Regions from separate parts of the Homo sapiens genome. Here region 1 is linked to region 2. Evidence: promoter capture Hi-C in human tissues and cell types (Jung and others, 2019). All regions are on one chromosome and are shown on one strand. Each heading gives the region's core, a stretch centred on a gene start or on the middle of the fragment in contact. The rest is flanking DNA. Distances are from core to core; before and after follow the strand shown.

Region 1 (6,705 bases), core at 1,817-4,316, 93 kb before region 2:
TGCATGTTTCCACCCTCTCCATGCACACTCACCCCCCAACCACCATCACTAAGGGAGACTCCAGCTTTGTGGCAGTTTCTTCCCCCTTCTCTTCTCCAAGATTCTCTGTGCTTTTGTAATAATGAGATAGGAAGTATCAGTGCCCCCTAGCCAAAGACCACCACGAGCACACCTGTAGTTGAACAAGTTGGGTTCATTGCTTGTTGAAGTGAGAGAGGACACGTAGCATGGGAAACCACGTGGCATCTCAGGAAGAGAGCATTGGAAAGGACTTAGAGGATCTGGGTTTGGGTTAGTGCTTTTCAAGAGGGTTAAAGAAGCAGAACTTTCCTTTGTGCTGGATGCTGTCAAGAAGCAAGAGTAATTCTATGATTGGGTATATTAATAAATCTTATCTAGAAAGAGGAATGATTAGAGTGAGGCTAAAGCTGCAATTGGTAAAGAAGCAGCAGGTACTCACATTAGCTAGGACAGCAGGCACTCATTAGCTAGGTCATTTTTGTGACTTGGACAATGTTCATGCTTTTGTATGTGTTAGACATGATTAGAGTGCTGTTGTTTTTGTCTTGATCCATCATTGTTAAAGAACGGCCCTGTCTCACATTGATGCCCTGTGAAATGGCTTATGTCCAATGGGACAACAGTAAGGCCTTGCTGTGAATGTCAGGTCAAATTCTGGCAACACCAAGGTCCAGCTGGGCCTTTCAGATGTTAGGGGTTACTTTTCTCTTTCTCAGAACAGAAGAGGTTAAGAGAGACGTGGGTAGGTGGGATTTCAGTTTTCTGGGGACTTAGGCAGAGAGTTGCTTAGTGTGTGCAAGAGGTGAGCGGTAGGTGGGTGGAGTGGGTTAATAAGAATCGCTCTGGACTGCATCCTCATGGTCCCTAGCAGAGAGTTGCTTAGTGTGTGCAAGAGGTGAGTGGTAGGTGGGTGGAGTGGGTTAATAAGAATCGCTCTGGACTGCGTCCTCATGGTCCCTAGCAGAGAGGTGCTGTAGTGTGTGCAAGAGGTGAGTGGTAGGTGGGTGGAGTGGGTTAATAGAATTGTTCTGGACACTGTGTCCCCATAGTTTTCAAGAAATATAAGTAAAAAACATAACCATTTTTTTTTTTTTTGAGACAGAATCTCACTCTGTTGCCCAGGCTGGAATGAAGTAGCGTGATCTCGGCAGACTGCAGCCTATGCCTCCTCGGTTCAAGCGATTCTTGTGCCTAGGCCTTCCAAGTAGCTGGGACTACAGGTGCGTGCCACCACGTCCAGCTATTTTTTTTTGTATTTTTGTAGAGACAGGGCTTCGCCATGTTGCCGAGGCTGGTCTCGAACTCCTGAGCTCAAGCAATCTGCCCACCTTGGCCTCCCAAAGTGCTGGGATTACAGGCATGAGCCACCGCCCCAGCCAACATGAGCAATTAAAAATTTTTTGTTGTTGTTTGCTGGGCTGTCTTTCTTCTATTTTGATGCTGCTGTGAGACTCTGTGGATCAGGGTCTTAAAAATATTAAAAGTCTTTCAGGCCGGGTGCGGTAGCTCATGCCTGTAATCCAGCACTTTGGGAGGCCAAGGTGGGTGGATCACCTGAGGTCACGAGTTTGAGACCAGCCTGGCCAACATGGCGAACCCCGTCTTTACTAAAAATACAAAAATTAGCTGGGCGTGGTGCCCGGTGCCTGTAATCCCAGCTACTTGGGAGGCTGAGGCAGGGAAAATTGCTTGAACCTGGGAGGCGCAGGTTTCAGTGAGCAGAGATCCGGCCACTGCACTCCAGCCTGGGCGACAGAGGGAGACTCTGTCTCAAAAAAGCAAAACAAACAACAAAAGTCTTTCAAAGCCGAAAGGTTCTTAGGCACTGTCTTAAAGCCTAGCGCTCCAGCTGAAGCTGGTGCCTGAGTCCAGATGGTGTTGAAGAAGGAGCAGGGCCCAGCGGGCACCACTCTCAGAAGTCGGGCTCAGGTGTCTCCTGCCTCCGAACCCAAGAAGACCCAAGAAGACAGAGTTCCTCAGGCTCCCAGTGTCCCTAGGAAGTGGCAACCTTGACTCTTGGCCAGAGTTCAGAGTCCTGGTTATTAACACCAATAAACCTTTATTTGCCAGGGATACTACCATGGGAGGACACAGCCCCTGAGCCCAGCCCTGTTGATCCTGTGGGAGCGGGAGGGCAGCGGAGGACAAAGGCAGAGACCTGAGAGCCGGAGAGGCTCATCAAAGGGTCCCCAGCCCCTCTCAGGAACGGAGCATTTCTTGGCAGAGTGGTATTCATAGGACAGAGTTTGGGAAGTCGGGGCAGGGGAGCCTGAGGACACAGCAAGGAGAGCTCAGTGGCAGGTGCAGGCAGAGCGTTCTTTGGAAAATGGAGATCCTGGAAGGTGAGGGCCTCGAGCGCCAGTGTCCAGCCTTAGTGGGTATGCATATGTCCAGCTCCCTAAGGACACACTCAGGACAGCTAAGGTGCACACAAGTCCAGGGGCTTCCCCGTGCTCCGCCCCCCTCTCCCCCACCCCGGTAGCAGGCTGGAGGGCCCAGACCATGCTGGGTAGTGGGAGAAATGGAAAGAAATGGGACAGGGAACAGGAGACAAGAGCCCATGGTGGGAGTCAAAGAGCTGGAAGAGTTTTGGAAATGGGGGTCTGGGGGTAGAGTTGATCAAGGGCCGAGTTACTCAGCGGGACAGGTGGGAGGCACGAGGCCCTGGCAGCTCTGTTTTCTTGGCCGGGCTTGGGGGGGAAAGCGGGTAGCCGTCAGGCGCCTAAGGGCCCGCCCTGGACCTCCCCACCGAGGGAGGTGTCAGGCCCCGAGGGACCCGGCCCCCGAGCATCACGGACGCGCTGGAGGCCGGTGGGCGGTCGCCGTAGTCGCCCTCCCACCACCTCGCTCAGGTTTCTCCGGCCTGGGGCAAGAGGCCTGTGGCCCGCGCGGGAACGCACTGTCCACCCTCAGACCTGGGACTGGGCCGGCGCGCGGACGCTACCAAGAGGCTGCGGCTCCCGCCCCCGCGGCCGGACGTGGCGCCTCCCCTGAGGCCGCGGCCGGAGCCTGGAGGTGGGGTCGGAGTCAGAGCCCGGGGCTCTGATGTCACCGCGCGGCTGCGACGGCCCAGGAGCGCGTCTCGGCGGGAGCCTCAGGTACGCGGCGGGGGCGGGGGAGCGGGAAGCGGGCGGCTGGGTCCGCTTCCCCCGGGAGGCCGGCGGGGCTGCGGGCGGACGGGGGTGAAGAGCGGGCGGCGAGGCGGTGGTCGCGGGGCAGCCCGGGCATCGTTCGGCCGGGACGTGTCTGGCTCGGCGCCGCGTCAGGTTGCGCCAGTGGAGTCGGACCCCAGCGCGCCTCTCCCAGCTGCAGAGCTGCAGGGCGGAGAGGCGGCCCACTCTAAGCTGGCGGCGCGGCTCAGGGGCGCGGCTGGGCGCGCCGCGTGTGGCGCCGGCGGGCAGCGCGGTCTCACTCCGCCACCCTCCGCTCCTGCCCTTTGTCGCCAAGCATCTGGAGAAGCCGGGTCCTTCCCTCCCGGGCTCGCGCTGTCCCCTGCGCGCGATCCTTCCCCGACGGTGAACCCAACGGGAAAGGCCCAGAACTGCGCGGGGCTGCGGCCATCTGCTGTCGAGCCGCTCCGCGTGTCTCTGCCGCCCCCTGCGGCCGCCGGGGCCTGCGCCTCTCTCCCTCCCGTGCCTCGGCTCCCAGAGATTGAACCCCAGGTAACCGGGTCTGTCCACGCCCGCGGCCGCCTCTCCCCGGGTGTCGCCAGCTTCCTGCATTTCCTGTGCATGGCACGGAGCTCGGGTCTCCAGAGACTCTGCATCTGGGGTGCAGCGACCGATGAGCCCGTAAACCAGTCGCACACTCGGAGCGTGGATGCTGCGTGGGGTGCGCTGTCAGCGCGGACAGGCTGGGAGAACGGGGGACGCTGGGGACAGGGAGAGCCGGTGAACTTCCCAGAACGTCCGCCTAGCCAGACCCAGCTGCGGGTACTGGGTTTTGAGACGTGGTCCAGTACCCAGGAACTCAGTCTGACAGGGAGACAGCGCCTACACAGTGAGCCCAGTACTGAGGGAAGACCCGCTGGGAGGGGCGGCCTGGATAGCCCCTCCACAGAGAGGTCAGATGTGAGGTGGCCTTGAGGGAGGTATGATGTAAATCCTGATCATTCGTTGTATTTGAGGCTGTCCGTTCTCCTGTGCCTCCTCGGTCGCCTTACTTGGATCTGTTCCCATTGCCTTGGTGTGATTTTATCCACCGGAAACTGTCTTCAGCTATTTCCCCAGTAACCTCTAACTAAAAACCTGGGTCTTGCCTGGTCTACCCTCCCCTGCTGAACTCCAGAGCCACATCCCAACTGCTGCCTGACTTGTCACAGACACCATGAAGCCCAGACTGAAGGAGCACTGGCCCCCTTGACAATTCCTCAGCCCCAGCTCCTCCTTTCAGACTGGTGCCTCCACCTGCCAGACCCCTAGCTTTGAAGGCCAATCTCATCTTCGTCTCCTTCCTCTCTGGCTCCTTCATTCAGGTGACAAGTATACATCAAATGCCCACCCCAACTCCCCCTCCCAGGACTCCAATCTGGTGTCTTTCTAGCGGGGAGTCTAGGTTGCTCCCTCTGCTCTGGAGAGGCTTGGCAAAATGCCTGCAGAGCTCCTTGAGCTCCACCTCTGAACTCCCTTTCAGCAGCCGGCACAGGCATAACAGCCCAGCCCACAGGTACCACTGCCACTGAGGCAGGGACCCCTAAGGTAGGGCTACCCCCAGCCACAGGGGCTGGCTGGACTGCAAGAGGCTCCCTGCAGCCAGACAAGTATGAAAATGCCTTGTTGTTTTGTGCTGAGGCCCCCCAAAACACACCAAAGCAGCTGGGCCCTCTTGGCATGGTAGGTTCTGCAAAGCACCCACTGTGAGGAGCCTGCGTGAACATCAACCTGATAGGGCCACCAGTGCAAAAGCATCTTCAACAAGTTACAGTCAATAAGGAAACACATGTGTAGACACATTTTTATTGCCCATTCAAGCTGTTTTTATTTGCTGAATTCAGAATCCTTTAACATAGTAACTCACAAATAAGATAGATTTTCATAGATTTTCAAGACCTCTTTTGAGGAAACATCTTGTGTTTGGTGATCCCCATCTGTAGCTGCAGCAAGCCAAAATGGGCAGGATGGGTGACATGAGCTAGTGCTCCCAAGCTGGACTCAGAAAGAGTAGGAAGAGAAAGGGCTAATGTCTGAGCAGTCGGGTGGGCTTCCTAGATGAGGGGACTGTCCTCCCAGGAGCTGCTACTCAGAGTAGTTTCTTGTCCTCCTAAAGTTTAGAGTGGAAATACTTTGCAAAAGAGGTCCCCAACCCTAAGTGTGAGGGCTAAGCTCCTGGGCTTAGTAGGCATATACAAATGCCCCCAGGTGGGTGACATCAAGATGTTCTGGTCCTAGGTCTGCTGAGAGCCTCTCCTGGGAATGTTGTAGGTACTGCCTTTCCCTTTTAGGAAACACCATATCCTCCTACCACTAACCCCCATCCTTGCCCTAACCAGCAATCTGTAACATCCTGGGCCTCAGGGACGTGGGTGGAGGGTGACTCTGAGCTCCAGATAGTGTCTAGGAGGCTCAAATAAGCCTGCTTTTTGGTCCTCACCCTAGCCGTGGGCCACCCTACTCTGCACTCCCTACCAAGCAGCTCAGAGAATGGAGGCCAGCGCCCAAAAGTCTCCATAGTTCATAGGGAGCCCCAAACCTCAACACTGCCCTTTCCCAAGCCTCAAAATTTCTCTTACCCTGACCCAGGCACACCCACTCAACTCTTACCCTTGATCCCCCTCCCAGGACCAGAAGGGATTGATTTCTGGTGAGTCCTGCCCCAAGCTGTGCTTGCCTGCTCTGTTCGTACCTAATATTGCATGAGGAACCTGGCCAGTGTCTATGGTGGCAAGTGCTTCACCCATTCTGTCCTCTTCCCCAGAAAAGACTAATAGGGAGGGAAGAAGCGTGCGCAGAAGCTAAGGAACTCTCTTCCTTCTCTACCAAGGCCACCCCTACATCTACTCCCTGCAAATCTGTTATTTCCCTTGACATTCAGCAAATATTTGGGGTTTTGTTTTGTTTTGTTTTGTTTTGTTTTGTTTTGAGACAGAGCCTCACTTTGTCGCCAGGCTGGAGTGCAGTGGCGCGATCTCGGCTCACTACAACTTCCGCCTCCCGGGTTCAAGCGATTCTTCTGCCTCAGCCTCCCGAGTAGCTGGGACTACAGGCGTGTGCCACCACGCCCAGCTAATTTTTGGTATTTTTAGTAGAGATGGGGTTTCACGATGTTGGCCAGGATGCTCTTGATCTCTTTACCTAGTGATCCGCCCACCTCGGCCTCCCAAAGTGCTGGGATTACAGGCGTGAGCCACTGCACCCGGCCCAAATATTTAACATTGACTGTATGCCAGGGACTCTGCTGGGCACTGAGAGTGCAGCAATGAGGAAGAGCAGGGCCCATTCTCAGGAAGCTCAGGGGTGGGAATGGGAGGAGGGAATCAGAAGCAAGCCAACAGGGACAGTGTGGGGTGGGGGTCAGCTCAGCACACTGTAGGAGTCCCAAAAAGTGAGGAGACCTCTAAGCTGAGTCCTACAGGAGAAGCAAGAATAGAAGCAGGGCAAAGATGGGGGTCGGCCCATCATTCCTAGACGAAAGGCAGAGTTTGAGAAGTGGGGGCCAGATTATTTTGGAATCTGCCAATAGTGTATG
Region 2 (7,225 bases), core at 899-3,398:
ACTGGTGGGAATTTAAAATGGTGCACTACTGTGGAAAACAACTTGGCAGTTCCTCAAAATGTTAAACATTAGCATTACCAAATGATCCAGCAATTCTACTTCTACATATGTAACCAAGAGGAATGAAAACATAGGCTCATACAAAAACTTGTAGCAGCATTATTCACGATAGGCAAAAAGTAGAAACAACCCAAATATCCATCAATGACAAATAGGTAAAAAAACATGTTATAGCCATGCAATGGAATATTATTCAGCCATAAAAAGTAACAAATTGCTGATATATGCTATAATAGGGATACAGCTTGAAAACTTTGTAAGTGAAAGAAGTTACTCACAAAAGGCTGCATATTGTGTAATTTCATTTATATGAAATGTCCAGAATAGGCAAATCCACAGAGATAGAAAGTAGATTGGTGGGTTGTCTAGGTCTGGGATGTTGGGAGTGGGGTGGGAGGAGGGTTGCAGAGAGCAAGGGGGAGTGGCTTATGAGTACAGAATGTCTTTTTGGAATGATAAAAATGTTCTAGGTTATGGTTGCACAACTCCATATATAGTAAGAACTATTGACTTGTACAATTTAAATCGGTGATTGTATGGTATGGTGTGTAAATTATATCTCAGTAAAGCTTGTATGTGTGTATATATAAAATATTGAATGGTGATAGGTACTATGGAGAAATATAAAGTGGGGAGGGAAAAAAAGAAGAGTTTGGGCTGAAGGTTGAAATTTTAAATAAGGAAATCATGTTAGGGTTCACTGGGGTTATGTGAACAAAGACTTTCTGGAGGAGGTGAGTGGTCAGGTGGTTTTTTAGGGAAAGAGCTGTCTAGGCTGCCTGGGTTTGGACCTGGGCTCTGCCATTGTTTATATGTATGACCTTGGAAAAGTTATTTAATGGTCCTGTGCCTCAATTACTTTATCTGTAAAATAATAATAAATAGTATCTATTTCAAAAGGTTATTGTGTGGATTAAATGAATTAAAAAACGAAAGCATGTAGAACAGTACACTGGCACTATGTAAAATGCTTTATCTTTATTTCTATCAGTTCCTACTGCAAGCTCACAGCCCTTGCATGCTAAGATGGAAGCACGACGGGAATGTTGGATGAAGCAAGGAGGCCAGGTGGGGCTGGTGCAGAAGAAGCAAGAGGGAGGATTGTAGGGCTTGTGGCTTTAGCTTTGTAAGATGGGAAATCAATGGAGGGTTTTGAGCAGAGAAAAGAGAAGATCTGATTCATGTTTTAGCACCAGCACTCTGGCTCCTGTCCAGCACACTGAAAAGGGACAAGGACACACAATCAAGGAAACCAGTTCTGAGCGATTGTAGTAATGCACGTGAGAGACGATGGTGGTGGTAGAAGTGGCCAAATTCTGGTTCCACTACAAAGATAGATACAACAGGCTGTATTTAAAGATAGAATATTGTGTATGAAAGAGACTGCAATTTTGACCTGAGCAGTTGTCGGAATTAAGCTCCCACATATTGAGATGAAGAAAGTCTGAGAGGGATGAGAGAGAGCCCTTTTAAATTTTTTGATGGGGGTGGAGTGGGTAGTGGGGCGATTGATGGGGGATCAAGATTTCAATTCTGGACATGATTAACTTGAAATGCCCATTACACATTCAAGTGGACTAGAAAGAGGATGGACGGATCACTGGTTCTTTGACCAACACGTATAAAAATCCCACTCTGTGCCAGGCTCTGTGTGGGCTCTGGAGATAGATGTGAGAATACTAACAATCTCCTTAAGAGAGCTCACTTTCTAATGGTAAGACAGGTCATGAGGAAGTTAGCAATCAAGCGAGGTCAGGTAGGTAAGGTCTTCAATTCTTCGGATGAGACAAAATGTACAATTGCTATTACTGATTTTAATATTCCGGGTATTGCAAGGGCCAGAAGACGGGCCTAAGAGCAGCTCCTCCTCCCAACCCCGGGCTGCCAGGTTACCTCCGCCTCAGTGCGTGCCACATTTCTAGCGCAGCAGAATGGCAGCATTGCGCACGCGCGGCCTCAGTCTGGCGTCCTAGGAGATGGACTCGGAAAGCCTCCGCGCAGGCGTAATTCAAGGGCCGAGAGAGCCTGAGACTGGGCTTGGGGCGGGGCGAGCTCGGAATGCGGCTGCGCACTGGGCGCTCTCGCCCGAGAAGCCGCAGTCTCGAGAGCGTCAACGAGGTGTTTCGGTAGTCTCTGGCCATCCTTTCTGCGCACCCGGTGTCGCTGGGCTGCACCCCGGGCGGGGACGTCCGCCGGGCACGGGAGGGGGCCAAGATGCCGGTGAGGAGAGTCGCTTCGCTTCTGGGGTTTCTTCTCATCCTAGCGGCCTGGCCCGGGGGCGCGGCCGTTGCCATGGAGGCGCGGAGCCGGCAGGCGGCCTGGGTGGGGCGGGGCAGGCTCGGTCGTGCGGTGGAGGTGGTTGGAGAGCCTGGCTGGTCAGCCCCGGGGCCGCGGGGGTCCGGCCGGCCTCGACAGGGACCTGGGGTCAGGCCCTGCCGCCCTCGTCGCTGCTGCATCCCGTGGGGCCTGCGCCGCTTATCAAAAAGGCGCTGTGCTGGAGGATGCGCTCTGGCTCGCAGCCCTTCCTGCTGAGCGGGGCGTCTGGGGGTGGCCACGGTGGGGCTCTTTGGATGCTGCACACCTGGTGAGGCCTTTGCGCCTCGGAGCAAGCGCAGGGAGGCAGCGGAGCGAAGGCTGCCTGCCCCTATTCCAGGCCCCATACTCCGAGTCTCCTAGCCTTGAGCTGTCATTGCTCTTGTGGCGCTTTAGCTTATGATGCAGAATGAAACCCGTAGGTGTCTTTGTGTGTGTGGCGGTGTTATGTTTATCTTCCAGGATTTCACAGATTGTTATCGTGAACTTAATAATGGGGCCTTCTAAGACCCCTTATTAGGGGTCATGGAGGAAAATTGAGCCATGGCCGCTTATTTAGTGGTTGTGAGGCCTCGGATAATTATTTAATCTGTCTGGGTCCTTAGTTCCCATGTAAACTTTACCTCATGGGGTTGTTATCCGCGTGAAATAATACACAGGAGACTAGAAGGACAGTGCTTGACATTTAAGATTAAATGCTCTATATTTGTTCTGTTCACTGCTTTCAAGTTTTAATTCAGTAAATATTGGGCACCAACCACATGCTAGGCCCTGAAGATACAACATTGAGCAACACCAGTCAGGTTCTTGAACTTGGAAAGAGAGAGGCTTGCCTTCTTGGGCAGAGGTGAAAATCATACATATTTACAGACGTAAGACACAAAACCTTAATAATGAAGTGGGTGGGTATCCTACAATAGAGAGAAGTAGATTCTGGTGAATTGGAATGTATTGCCATGTAAGAATGATGGTCTGCAGATGATAACAGGTCATTTTTTTTCCTCCCAAGAAGAGACTTTAGAAATTATTTTTGTGAAATTTCTCAATTTTAGCAACTAATTCAAAAGCTCTTTAAATACTATGAACCAAACAAAAGAAATTTGTGGGCTGAATTCAGCCTCTTGACTACCTGTTTGCAACCTCTGGTGTAGACAGAAAGACATTAATCAAATAAGGAACAAGCAAAAGTAAAATTTGTGTCCAGGAAGGGGAGAGCAGGGTGCTCTCTGAGCCTATAAGAGTATTTGACCTAGTCAGGAAGTCTTCCCAGGTGAAGTGGCTGTTGAGTTCTGAAGGATAAGTAGATGTTAACTAAGTGAAGAGGGGATTGAAGATGGTTCTAGGTAGAAGGAACAGCACATGGAAAGGCCAGTGGTGAGGAGCATGGTGACAAGAAAAGGCCAAGCAGCTCAGTGTGGCTGTGGCATGGATGAGCCAGGCAGAATATCTTGTGAAATAAGCCCAGTGAAGCAGACGTGGGTGGAAGCCAGACCTTACAGACCACCTTAAGGATTCTGGTTTTTGTTCTGAGATCTATGGGAAACCACTGAAGAATTTTTAAGTAGGAGAGTGACATGATTAGATGTGTGTTGACACTGACTGCTATTTGGAGAATAGGCAGTAGGGCAATCTGATTAGATTCAGGAGTATAGTTAGGAGGCAGTAATCCAGGGCCAAGATGATGGTGATTTAGACTAGGGTGATGAATAGATGAGAGGAATAGGATGAGAGATAGATAGAAGTGTATTGTACTGATATAATCTGTTACTTGTCAGTGACAATGTCAGAGTCAATGACAATGACTCATATTTGTTTCTCTTCAATGCTTAGAAGAGAATCTGAAACAGTAGGAATTTAACAAGTATCTGTTCAACTAAACTGTCCTTTTCACTTCAATAATAGGATTGTGTTTCATTATATTTTCTTAATCATAAAATTTCAGAAATGACGGGGTGCGGTGGCACATGCCTGTAATCTCAGCACTTTGGGAGGCCGAGGTGGGTGGATCACTTGCGGTCAGGAGTTCGAGACCAGCCTGGCCAACATGATGAAATTCCGTCTCTACTAAAAATACAAAAATTAGCTGGGCATGGTGATGGACGCCTGTAATCCTAGCTGCTGGGGAGGCTGAGGCAGCAGAATCGCTTGAGCCTGGGAGGCAGAGGTTGCAGTGAGCTGAGATCACGCCACTGCACTCCAGCCTGGGTGACAGGGTGAGACTGTGCCTCATAAATAAGAAAAAAAAAATTCAGAAATGGAAACTTTACATATACAAATGCTTATAAGGTTAGGTAATACTAAGGCATTTTTCTTTGCCATTAGACTTTCATTTCTGTCTTTATCTTATTATTGTTTTCTGTAGAGAAGATAAGCCATATATGGATATATTACATGATAAAAACCATTTTACAGATGCGTGATAGGAAATAAAACTAAAGTCTCAGGGGAAACAAAGGACCTACTATTTTCTTGAGTTAAAGTTGTTAACCATGTTCACATGTGTTTTCCTACAGGCAGGAAACGCTGGGTCAGAGACTTTTGTGCAAAAAGATGATCTATAATATACTGGTTCAGTTTCTGCTTGTACAGCCTTTGCCACAAATGTGAACTAGCTCTTCTCTCCCTTTTACATTTTAAAAGAAACGATTTTCCTTTTTGTATCTTTTAATAAACTTTTCAGCTATATGTAAGATCTTTAATTGCATTTAACAAATACCTGTGAAGTGTTTAATGTGTGCAAGGCACTGAGTTGGAAAAGTAGCCTTTTAAAGTTTATAAATTTAATCTGATGAGGGTAAAAATTAATGTTCTTTTCATTATTTGTAAATATTATCTCCAACAGATCAATAAATCAGAGAAGCCAGAAAGCTGCGATAATGTGAAGGTTGTTGTTAGGTGCCGGCCCCTCAATGAGAGAGAGAAATCAATGTGCTACAAACAGGCTGTCAGTGTGGATGAGATGAGGGGAACTATCACTGTACATAAGACTGATTCTTCCAATGAACCTCCAAAGACATTTACTTTTGATACTGTTTTTGGACCAGAGAGTAAACAACTTGATGTTTATAACTTAACTGCAAGACCTATTATTGATTCTGTACTTGAAGGCTACAATGGTAAGTGAATCTTTACTTTTTAAAAAACTCCCTTATTGAGACATAATTACTGTGCCATAAATTCACATATTGCAGCTGTGCAGTTTGATGAGTGTAGTAAATATATACAGTTGTGAAACCATCATCACAATCCAGCTTTAGAACACCCTTGTCATCCTCAAAATTTCCTTTATGCCCATTTGCAGACCCACCCCCAAGCAACTATTGATCTGCTTTCTGTCACTATAATTTTGCCTTTTCTTGAAATGTCATATAAATGATGTCATATAATATGTCACCTTTTTTATCTGTTTTCTTTCACATCAAATAATGTTTTTGAAGTTTATCCTGCTAGGATTTTCATAGGGATTGTGTTGAATTGTCATTCTGACAATATTGAGTCTTCAGTCCATGAACATGATACTTCTCTTCATTTAAAACGTTGAAACATTAATGAATTATGGACAGGGTCTTGCTCTGTTGCCCAGGCTGGAGTGCAGTGGTGCAGTCATAGCTTACTGCAGCCTTGAACCTGGGCTGAAGCTATCCTCTCACTTCTGCCTCCTGAGTAATGAGAACTACAGCTGTGCGCCACCACACCTGGCTCATTTTTTTGTTTTTGTAAAGACTGGGTCTTGCTGTGTTGCTCAGTCAGGTCTTGAACTCCTAGGCTCAAGCAATCTCCTACTGAGGCCTTTCAAAGCCCTGGGATTTCCCATGTCAGCTACCATGTCCAGCTTCTCTCCATTTATTTATATCTTAATTTCTCTCATCTGTATTTTGTAGCTTTTAGTGTACAAGTATTGCACTTGTTTTGATTAATTTATTCCTAAGTATTTTTTTGATGCTATTGTGAATAGGATTGCTTTCATAATTTCAATTTTGGATTGTGTGTTACTAATATATAGAGATGAAATTGATTTCTTTAGGTAGCTTTTGTGATAAAATTCAAATATCAAATTTATGATTTTAACCATTTTACACTTTATAGTTCATAGGTACATTTACAATGTCGTACAGCTGTCACCGCTGTCTGTTTCCAGAACATTTCTATCACTCCAAAAAGAAACCCTGTATCCATTAGCAGTCAGTCACTCCCAATCCATTACCACCTCCCTTCCCCCAACCCAGCAACTACTAATTTACTGTCTATATCTATTCTATGAGTTTGCCTATTCTGGACATTTTCTATAAATGGAATTATATGCTATGTGGCCTTTTGTGAATAACTTCTTTCACTTACAGTGTTTTCAAGCTTCATCCCTATTGTAACATATAAACATATATCAGCAATTCATTACTTTTTTTTTTTTTTTGGAGACGGAGTCTTGCTCTGTCGCCCAGGCTGGATTGCAGTGGCGTGATCTTGGCTCACTGCAACTTCTGCCTCCTGGGTTCAAGCGATTCTCCTGCCTCAGCCTCCTGAGTAGCTGGGACTACAGGCGCCCGCCAACACACCCAGCTAATTTTTTGTGTTTTTAGTAGAGACGGGGTTTCACCGTGTTAGCCAGGATGGTCTTGATCTCCTGACCTTGTGATCCGCCTGTCTCAGCCTCTGAAAGTGCTGGGATTACAGGCGTGAGCCACTGCACCTGGCTGATTTTTGTATTTTTAGTAGAGACGGGGTTTCACCATATTGGCCAGGCTGGTTTTGAACTCCTGATCTTGTGATCCACCCGCCTCGGCCTCCCAAAGTGCTGAGATTACAGGCGTGAGCCATTGCACTAGGCCAGCAATTCATTATTTTTTATGTCTGA

What was found. Contacts are between HindIII fragments. The study calls those that stand out against the background at their distance.
Region 1: the fragment with the promoter of SHROOM1 here is called in contact with the fragment with the promoter of KIF3A in region 2 in 1 of the 25 tissues and cell types used here (hippocampus).

What each region holds. Positions count from the first base shown.
Region 1 is chr5:132,827,008-132,833,712 of GRCh38, reverse strand. It overlaps SHROOM1 (shroom family member 1), which reads left to right and starts at 3,066. Exons shown (of 10, transcript NM_001172700.2): 1 at 3,066-3,119; 2 at 6,106-6,252. RefSeq lists silencers at 2,758-3,177, 3,388-3,697. The HindIII fragment of the contact is 17,651 bases long and covers 1-6,705 here.
Region 2 is chr5:132,732,469-132,739,693 of GRCh38, reverse strand. KIF3A (kinesin family member 3A) reads left to right here and starts at 2,148. Exons shown (of 19, transcript NM_001300791.2): 1 at 2,148-2,280; 2 at 5,216-5,489. The coding sequence starts at 2,275. RefSeq lists a silencer at 2,284-2,593 and an enhancer at 2,744-2,843. The HindIII fragment of the contact is 7,994 bases long and covers 1-3,676 here.